3 separate regions of the Homo sapiens genome follow, and all the other regions are linked to region 2. Evidence: promoter capture Hi-C in 16 types of primary human blood cells and fetal thymus (Javierre and others, 2016). All regions are on one chromosome and are shown on one strand. Each heading gives the region's core, a stretch centred on a gene start or on the middle of the fragment in contact. The rest is flanking DNA. Distances are from core to core; before and after follow the strand shown. Region 1 holds the start of SH3PXD2B (SH3 and PX domains 2B). Region 2 holds the start of NKX2-5 (NK2 homeobox 5). Region 3 holds the start of NEURL1B (neuralized E3 ubiquitin protein ligase 1B).

Evidence for each region. Contacts are between HindIII fragments. The CHiCAGO score rates a contact against its expected background, and 5 or more counts as called.
Region 1: a contact is called between the fragment with the promoter of SH3PXD2B here and the fragment with the promoter of NKX2-5 in region 2, in 2 of 17 cell types (erythroblasts and neutrophils). The highest score is 5.5, in erythroblasts.
Region 3: a contact is called between the fragment with the promoter of NEURL1B here and the fragment with the promoter of NKX2-5 in region 2, in 2 of 17 cell types (neutrophils and endothelial precursors). The highest score is 6.1, in neutrophils.

The regions. Positions count from the first base shown.
Region 1 is chr5:172,453,119-172,456,093 of GRCh38, reverse strand. It overlaps SH3PXD2B (SH3 and PX domains 2B), which reads left to right and starts at 1,569. Exons shown (of 13, transcript NM_001017995.3): 1 at 1,569-1,816. The coding sequence starts at 1,742. RefSeq lists an enhancer at 2,082-2,603. The HindIII fragment of the contact is 9,231 bases long and covers 1-2,975 here.
Region 2 is chr5:173,233,585-173,236,722 of GRCh38, reverse strand. NKX2-5 (NK2 homeobox 5) reads left to right here and starts at 1,517. Exons shown (of 2, transcript NM_004387.4): 1 at 1,517-1,973. The coding sequence starts at 1,640. RefSeq lists an enhancer at 2,838-3,138. The HindIII fragment of the contact is 9,083 bases long and covers 289-3,138 here.
Region 3 is chr5:172,639,808-172,642,923 of GRCh38, reverse strand. NEURL1B (neuralized E3 ubiquitin protein ligase 1B) reads right to left here and starts at 1,661. Exons shown (of 5, transcript NM_001142651.3): 1 at 1,487-1,661. The coding sequence starts at 1,517. RefSeq lists a silencer at 1,610-1,899. The HindIII fragment of the contact is 2,251 bases long and covers 703-2,953 here.

The DNA.
Region 1 (2,975 bases), core at 320-2,819, 780 kb after region 2:
TCCTGCCAGGCCCTTCCACTGGCCAAGCCAAACAGGAAGACCAGGACAGAGAGCTGTCAGTGAAATCCACACAGGCCAGCCTCTGGGGCTGGAGCAGGATGGTAAAGTCTGGCAAGGAAGTCAGAGGAGCAAATGGAGGGGCGGATCCAAAGTGAATCAGCCCAAATCATCCACGTGGCCTGGCCGAGGCTGAGAGCCGTCCTACCCTGGATAAGCCCACCCTTTTCCAAAGGCTGATCCTGGACCGGGGTGGGAAGTAGCTCTGTCGTGGCATGGAGAAGAGTCGTACGGTTTGTTGAAAAGAGCCCCCACTTACTGGCTGTGAAAACACTGGCCAGGAGCCTAAACCTCCCATCCATGCATTATATATTCATTTATCCATTCATTCAGCCAACATCTCCTGAAAGTGACTCAGTGCCCAGCCAGTGCTAGGAGGCACTAGATGAAGAAACGAGGAGCTGCCCCAGCCACGGCAGCTTCAACGTGTGAGATCCACCTAGAGCCAGGCAGTGACGGGCTCCATCCACCGGCTCCCTGACTCTGGACCTTCACTGATGTAATTCCTGTAAGGCACATTCTTCTGAAGTACAGTTCCCAAGTCAGAGGGTCCTCAGGCCTCATTGGAAATGTCCAAATGTCTGGAGGCCGTCCTCTGTAAAAACACCTTTTCCTCCTAGAGTCTGCCTGAGGATGCAAAGACAGCATTTGTGAAAAGCAGGGGCCACGGGGCCCAGCGAGCAGTTAAGTGCTCCGCAACTGGAAATCGATGGCCTTGCTAACAAGCACCCAGCTGCCCCTCACACATAGTCACCACCCTTTTATCCCCTTTTGTTGCTTCCATGGCAATTACATTGCACGTATGCGCATTTGTTGCAGTTTTTCTCTCCCTCACTCCCCATGTCCCAGACTGAGGCTGGGGGAACCTGGTCACGGGTCTCTTGCTCCTCCTGAATCACCAGGGCTTGGGGTGGCTTTAGGAACGCCAGCACTCATACCATGGACTGCACTGCGGAATGGCTTCACATGCACTTAATCCCGGGCGCAGCACCGGCAGGCAGGCGGTACTACTGACACGTGCTACAACATGGATGAGCCTTGAGGACATTATGCCGAGTGAAATAAGCCAGACACAAAAAGACAAACATGGTGCTTGTACTACTAGGCTCATATTATAGACGAAGAGACCCAACCCAGAGAGGTTAAGCAACTTGCCGAGGGCACAGAGTGGAAAAGCGGCAAAGCCGGGATTCGAACCCGGGTGTCCGGCTCTCCAAACTGGCGGTGGATGGCGGCTGCCGGAGCGAGAGTGCTGGAATGAATCGATACGTCAATCAGTGAACGGGCGACGGGGTCAGTCCAGTCCCCTCCCCCGGCGCGGCGGCTCAGCACCGGGACAAAGGCCGGGCGGGGGCCGGACGTGGCCGGCGGGGTTCGCGCGCGGTGGGCGGGGGTCGGGGCCGGGCCCTTTAAGGGGGGCGGGCCGGCGGCGCGGGGGGCGGTGCGGGGGGCGGTGCGGGGGGCGGTGCGGGGGGCGGGCCGGGGGCGGGCGGCGGCGGCTGGGCCCGGCTGGAGTGCGCGCCGAGCGAAGGGCGGCGGCGGTGGCGGCGGCGGCTCGTGCTCGGCCCCGGCTGCGATTGCGCTCAGCTCCAGGTTCCCTGCCCGCGGCGGCGCGCCCCCAGCGCTCCCTGCACCCCGCGCCACCCGCACCCGCGCTCGGCCCGCTGCGGGCGGAGGAGCGGCCATGCCGCCGCGGCGCAGCATCGTGGAGGTGAAGGTGCTAGACGTGCAGAAGCGGCGGGTGCCCAACAAGCATTATGTGAGTGCGGCGCGGCCCCCACGCCCCCTTGAGCCCGCGCCCCGTCGGGGGCGACCGAGGGCCCCCGGCTTGGAAAACTTCTGCCTCCAGCGCTTCCCGTCCCCTCCTCCCCTGCTCTCCCCTCGGCTCTGCGGCGGCGCTGCCCGGGTCCCTCCCGACTCCTCCTCCCTCCCTCCCCTCCCCTCCCCGCTTTTGCCTCGTTCTCCCCCTCCATCCCTTCCTCCCGCCTCGCCCCCCTACTCGCCTCCCTGCGGCTCCTCTACCCCTTTCTGTCTTCTCCGTGTCCCCCCAACTCCCGTCCTGCTCATCTGTGGAAAAGTCTGGCTCCAGCCGGTGAGGGGTCTGAGACAGAAAGCGGGAGAGACAGAAGTGCCTGTTCTCAGGCCGCCCGCCTTGCCCCTCCTTGTCCAGAGGCGCGCAGACCCGCAGTCCCCAGCCACAGGTAGCCCCTCTAGGGTTCGCCGAATTTGACTCCGTTCTTTGGCAAGAGCCGGCCTGGGCGATGGAGGAGATCTCTGGGAATGGATCATTTGAGTGGCTACGCCTTTAAAGGGTTAAAAACATCCCCTGCCCCCTCTCTCCAGTAACTTCTGTTTTAAAATGTACGAAAGTTTTCTCCTGGCATCTCCCTCTGGAACATGGGAATCTTGTTTGGAGCTGGCAAGGACTTGAGAAAATGGGACAGTAGCGTCGTTTTGCAGATAGGAAGGCTGAGGCTCAGAGGTTGCAGGTCCTGGAACATAGAGCTGCATTCGGGCTTCCCTCCCTCCAGCAGGGGTGCCTGGGGCTGACGGTGACCTGCAGGTGGAAAGTGGCTTCCGCAGCAACCTAGGGGACACGTCTGCAGATTCAGGAGGCCCTGGGACCACCTCGCAGGTTCTAGGTGGAGATAAAGGGGATGTGGGGTGATGGGCCCACATGAGGCCTTGGGGAGGGCCTCATTACAGCAGGGAAGGGGGCTATAGTGTCTCTGGCGGTGAGAAGTGGGCAGTGGCGGAGCCTGGCTGCAGAGAAGTTAACCAGGAAGGGAAAAAGAGTAAGAGGGAGGGAAAAAATCCTAACAAAGAAGTATAGAACAATGAATAGAAAAGGGCGTTGGCTGGCTAAATTAAGCTCCTTGGCCTCCCTGGAAGTCGTCTTCAGATCTTTTTTTTTTAAG
Region 2 (3,138 bases), core at 268-2,767:
TTTATTCTACTCCAAGCGCCTCTTGCCAACCCGCACTCCGCAAAGAGCCAAGCCCTCCACATCCCCATTCTCAGCAAGTCCACGCGTCCCGCCCAGCTTCCCGCCCGCGGTTCCCTGTACCAGCTAGGGCCGTGAGAAGCCAACGCTTTTCCACTGACAAATCCTGTCATCCCCAGCTCTAGAAGGCGTCCTTAACCTGGGCCCGCTCTGCCTGCCCGGACTCCTGAATTGTAAGCAAAATAAAACTCCTCTCTGCAGTGTTCTGGGGAATGGAGAAGACCCCAAGCTTTCATCAGACCTCCCAAGGAGTGCGGGGACCCAGAGAAATGAGGCCACCCGGGCAGGATCTGGCCATGTAGCTGGCGCTCCTGAAACTCTGGCAGATTTGTCTGACTTCTGTGCCCTACTCTACTGACCCTGGGCTAAAAATGATCATGATCACCCCACTTGCCCTGCCCTTCCCCCACGCGCCTGACCGAGCCGCAGGGGTGCCCCACTGGAAGTCCGGCCCAGAGGCCTCAGAGAAATCCTGGCCTAGCTGGGCTCAGAGGAGCCCCGCCTCCCTGAGAGCTAAACCTGGGCTAGGACCCTGAAACCTCGAGGTTGGCAGAAGCCTGAGGGCCTTGCTGCCAGGCAGGGAGGGCACGGGAAGGAGGGAGGTGGGATCGATGGCCTCCAAACAGGGGAAACAAGGTGGCTGGTAGCTGGGGCACTCCACAAGACAGGTGTCTCCTGGGAAGCTGAGCTTACCAGCTGGGATTCCTGATTTATTTCATTATTAAGGGGAGAGGCATTTCCCTGGGAGGGTACTGGCAGTGACTGATGCCCCCTGGAGTTGTGCTGTGCATAACACTACTGTAGGAGGCAGCAACTCCTACCCCACCTGGCCATCACTCACCTTGCCCTTACTTTCGTTGACTCGCCCAGAAGCACCCAGAGCCTGCGGCATGACTGACCCTGTAGGCCAAGCCAAACCAAACCCCCGAATTGTCCAGAATCTCGCCCTGCTGCTATCCCCAAAGCCAGCCCTGTCCTCCAGGCTTCTCTTCCTATTCAGACTCTCCCTCATCCCACCACCTTCAGTAATAAAGCCTTCCTCAAATCACTCTCCTCCCCACCGCTTCCCACCCCATCCTTCTCTCTCCCATGCTGGTTTGGGTGCTGAGGAATATTTCTTCAAACCCACACCCATCCAGCCCTGCCCAGAGGCCTGACTCTGCATGCCTCTGGTAGGCTTTTCAGGCTCACATTAGGGAGCAAACGCAGGCTGCAGGAGCAAAAGGAGACCCTTCCAAATGCGTCGTGGCCCCTTTAAAAAAGCTGGGCAGGGCTTTTTTTTTTTTTTTTTTTTTTTTTTTTTTTTTTTTTTTTTGCCGTATGACTATATTAGGTGACACGAAACTGCTCATCGCTCCTGTCATCGAGGCCCCTGGCCCAATGGCAGGCTGAGTCCCCCTCCTCTGGCCTGGTCCCGCCTCTCCTGCCCCTTGTGCTCAGCGCTACCTGCTGCCCGGACACATCCAGAGCTGGCCGACGGGTGCGCGGGCGGGCGGCGGCACCATGCAGGGAAGCTGCCAGGGGCCGTGGGCAGCGCCGCTTTCTGCCGCCCACCTGGCGCTGTGAGACTGGCGCTGCCACCATGTTCCCCAGCCCTGCTCTCACGCCCACGCCCTTCTCAGTCAAAGACATCCTAAACCTGGAACAGCAGCAGCGCAGCCTGGCTGCCGCCGGAGAGCTCTCTGCCCGCCTGGAGGCGACCCTGGCGCCCTCCTCCTGCATGCTGGCCGCCTTCAAGCCAGAGGCCTACGCTGGGCCCGAGGCGGCTGCGCCGGGCCTCCCAGAGCTGCGCGCAGAGCTGGGCCGCGCGCCTTCACCGGCCAAGTGTGCGTCTGCCTTTCCCGCCGCCCCCGCCTTCTATCCACGTGCCTACAGCGACCCCGACCCAGCCAAGGACCCTAGAGCCGAAAAGAAAGGTGAGGAGGAAACACAGGCCCCCTTCTCCCCTCCTGGGTCGCTTTCGTCCCCAAGAAACTCAGGGCCAGGAGGAGGAGACACGCGCCCTTGGGCCGAGGGCTGGGCTGCGGCGGGGGGTTCAGAATGTAAGATGCCTGGTGTTGTCGCCAGGCTCCCGCGCCCCGCGTCCAATCGGAGGTTCAGAGGAAATGCCGGATTGAAAGGATCAGAAGCAAGAGACCAAAAAACGTTTCCCCCCGGCCTAACAAAGCCCCGGGCGGCTTCGGCTCTGCTCCTGGGTCTGGTAGGAAGTTGAGAAATCGGTTTATGGTAGACAGAACAGAGAGACAAGCAGATAATCTCTGTTTTTAAATCTCCTTTGGATTTACGAATCTTTTTAAAGATCTGATGAGAACCGCTAAACAGAAATTGAAATGTTGCTCACCAGACAGCTTTTGCGTACAATCGGAGGAGGGTCCTGGACCTTCTTTCTGCAGCCCACCCACGACCCGGGTTTCTGGTGCCTTTCTTTCTTTGCGCCAGGAAAGTGGAGTCTGGGATCGAGGGCCTTGATTTTAAAATGGGATACTGCGGACCCTCAGGAATCTGACTTCACTTTATTTTTTCAGCACAACTTGCCGGCGCGGCCAGGGCGGAGAGGTTCCCTCGTGGAAAAGTTAGGAAATGCTGCGCTACCGCGGGCACAAGGGAGTGGACGAGATGAGTGCGGGATCATCCCGCAGGCCATCCCAGGATCGGGGAGGGAGGCCGGCCCCGCTGCAGAAAGGGGCCTTCTGGGAGACCCCCCAGCCCAAGGCAGGAGCCCGGGCGATTCCCGGGAGGCCGCAGGCGCTGGGCGAAGCGCTGGGCGAAGGGCCGCTGCCAGCCGGGAGAGAATTCATAGGTTTGTTGAGGAGCAGAGGCCTGGGAACAAATTCGGGCGGGCACGGCGGCTAGAACTGATCGCTACCAATTCGAGGAAGCCAGCAAGGCAGGTTCCGAGGCCGCCTGCCCACCCGCAGCTTCTTGGACACTGCGCAAACCCTGCTGCGGCCAGGCTGGAGCCTCCGATCACCAAACCAACACTCCCTGGCCTTCTGTTTCTTGATTCCTTAATTTTGAGATAAGACCGTCCCTAGCAGTGAGGCCTCGGCCTCTGTTCATTTAACTTCTCAAACCAAACTA
Region 3 (3,116 bases), core at 412-2,911, 590 kb after region 2:
TGTGGCGAGAATATCTGCTGCCCTATTTGCCAACATCCCCAGATATCTCCTGACCCGCGGGTGGGTTCTCCCCCAACCTGGCAATAGCCCTGTCCACAGGAGGTAGAGGCCACCCTCCAGTAAGCAGACCTGGGTTCTAATCCCACCTCTGCCACTGACTAGCTGGTGACTCTGCTGATGATTACAGCTCTCTGGGAATTTGAACGTTTGAGTGCAGTTGCTCAGAGGCTTGTAAAGTAGGAGTTGGCTCCTCTTCCATAAGCTGACCCTGGGAATCCTGGGCTCAGCACTGTCCACTTCAACCCGCTCCAGGGGAAATTATTCTTTAAGAGCATGTAATGCCTAGAAGGGAGAGCTATATGGGAGTGTTATAGCAGAGATGGGGTGATATGTCCCTCTTCCAGAACCTCACACTAAATTAACCTCACAGCTGACTTGCTTCCCCATTGAGCCGAGCCTTTGTGCTTTAGACACACACACACTCCTCTCACCTTTTGCCCAAAGGATGCTACAAAGGCCCAGCCTTAAGACAAAATACTTCTAAATACTTGGGCGTGTGAGGGGAGGGAGGGCAGAGAGACACAGGTCCCACTCCAGATTCTCCCACTACTAGCTGTGTGACCTTGGGTGAGTCATTTCACCTCTTCTGACACTCAATTTTTTTATTTGTAAAACTGGGATACACATCTTTATCGCGAAGCTTCTTTGCATACCGAGCTGGGGTATGCAAAGTGCTGGGCACTGAACCTCCACGGGCACGCGCGGGCGCGGGACCGCTGATCTGTTCCCACAATTACCATGTATTTTCCAGTAAGGCCTCCTCCTACCCCGTTAACCTGCTCCGGATCCCCTCACTCCGGTCCCAGAAATTCTGGGGCGATTTTAACTAGGGGGCGATGCGATCTGCAGCAGCGACTCCGAGGGGGCGAAGGAGTCCCCAGTGGAGCGGACACCAGAGGGGGGCGCAACCGGGGTGCGCGTGGGAACGTGGCCAAAGCACGGCAGCATGTGCCGCGGGGGCGCTGGGAGGCTGGAAACTGGGGTGCCCCTGAGAGCACCCCTCACTCTCGGCAGCTGCAGTCTTGGCACCACGGGTGGCTTCTGACCGTCGGAAGCCCTGGCGAGCCCGGCTCCAGTCACCCCCACCCAGGTCGCCTTGAGTTTGCTCATCAGCGCCCTCGGGCTGGAACAAAGGCGAGGGGGCGCGCGGCATCGCCCCAGCGGCCCTTTTTGCGCATCTGGCCAAAGCCGGGAGAATGAGGACTGGGGTCCCCAAGGTAACCAGGACGCGGTACCCGCCCTCCCGGGGCGCAAAGCCCAGCCGCGGGGCGCGCGCCGAGCTGAGGTCCGGGAGGTACCGGAGACTCCAGCCCGCTGCGAGCCGAGGGCTCCAAGGGCCGTGGGGTAGCTCTCCAGAGTCACCCAGCGGGTCCCCCGGAGGAGAGAAGCCCGGCGCCCGCCTCCCGGGCAGGGCTCCCCGGCGTACCTGGCAGGGTCCGGTGCACCGTGTTGCCCATCGCTGCGTCGGGCGCGGCGTTGGCGGCGGCGCGCTCTGGGCGCGCGGAGGCTAATTACGCGGCGGGCCAGGGACCAGGACCGGGGTCGACGCTCCGGGGCATCGCAGCTGCACGGGCGAGCCGGCGGGCGGCAGCTGGGGCGGGAGCCGGGAGGGAGGCGGCGGCGGCGCCTGCGGGAGGAGGAGGCGGAGCCACCGGCCCGGGCCCGCCGGCTCCGCCCCCGCCTCCCACCGCCTCCAACAGTGCAGGGGCGGGGCCGCGGCCGCCGCATCTTTTGAAAGTTTGCACCAGGCGGCGGGAGAAGCACAGCCAAGCCTCCCGCCCTCGCCGCTCCCGCGCCCGGGCCGGGAAGGCGCGCAGGGCAGCTGGGTGCCCTCGGGTGCCAGGATCGGCAGTCTGCTGGCCTGTCACCCATTTGTTCTAACACTTTGAGAAGGCCCACTGTGTGCCAGGCCCTCTTCCAGGCGCGGGGCCCCAGCCGGCCGAGTCCTAGCCCCGGCAGACCTCTTTGGAGAGTGCTTCGGCCCCGGGGGAACTTACACAGAGGCAGACGGGCCCCTGGGACCATGTAAAGGGCTTGGAGACAGTACACCCAGGGTTCCCGGGTTTGGGTGGAGTCTTTTCTATCCCCTAGGCCAGGTACCGAGGAATAGAAGAAACCCAGTGTCCAAAGATTGGGAAGAGGGAACCCACATTCATTAATTTATTCGCTCATTCACTAAAATATTTATTGAGCACAGTCTATGCACCAGGCACTGTGCTGGGCCGGGTAGATACAGACAAGGTCCCCACTGCCCTGGAGATGGCATGCTGAAGATAGAAATAACAAGCAATTACGATCACATTATATAATAATCAAAGCCAGGAAGAAAATAAAACAGATCCCAGTAGAGTGAGGAGATGACATTGTTTGGGGGCATAGGGAGAATCTGGGGTGGGGGCACATAAGCTCCATCTGATGGACTAGAAGGCGTCGGCCATGAGAAGAGATAGGTAGAGTGTTCCTGGCAGAGGCAGTAACAGGCATTCCTCATTCAGGCACCTGGACCACACTCAGTGGGAAGTGCAGCTGTGCCCTTCTCGAGCTCCATTTCACAGGCTGGAACGCTGAGGCCCAGGAAGTGCAATGACTTCCCCAAGAAGACCCGATTCCAAATGAGCTGTTTTTTTCAATTCTATTTTTCATGCTCTTGTATCCCTTGAGACTTTATGAAATATGTATTATTACTTCCATTTCACAGATAGGGAAATTGAGGCTCTGAGAGTGGAAGAGAGGTGCCCAAGATCTTCCAATGGTACAGGGCAAAGCTAGCCTGAAGCTATGCGAATAAAAGCGGGGTATTCAGGAGACAGCCTTCTGCATCTCCGGTGCCTTCTGCTTACAGTACATGACCCATCCCAGAGGGTTCTAGGGTCTTTAAGGCCAGCTCCAAGCTTCCACTTCCGGGAAACCTTGATTCCCCACTCCCCCCTGACGTCATATGTCTGAACATAAGATTGCCTTGCATTTGAGTTACTAATTTCTCATATTACAGGTGCTCGCCCAGTGACTTAATTTTTAACCCCAAAGTTCTGTTTGAGAAAGGTCCGTTAGCGTGA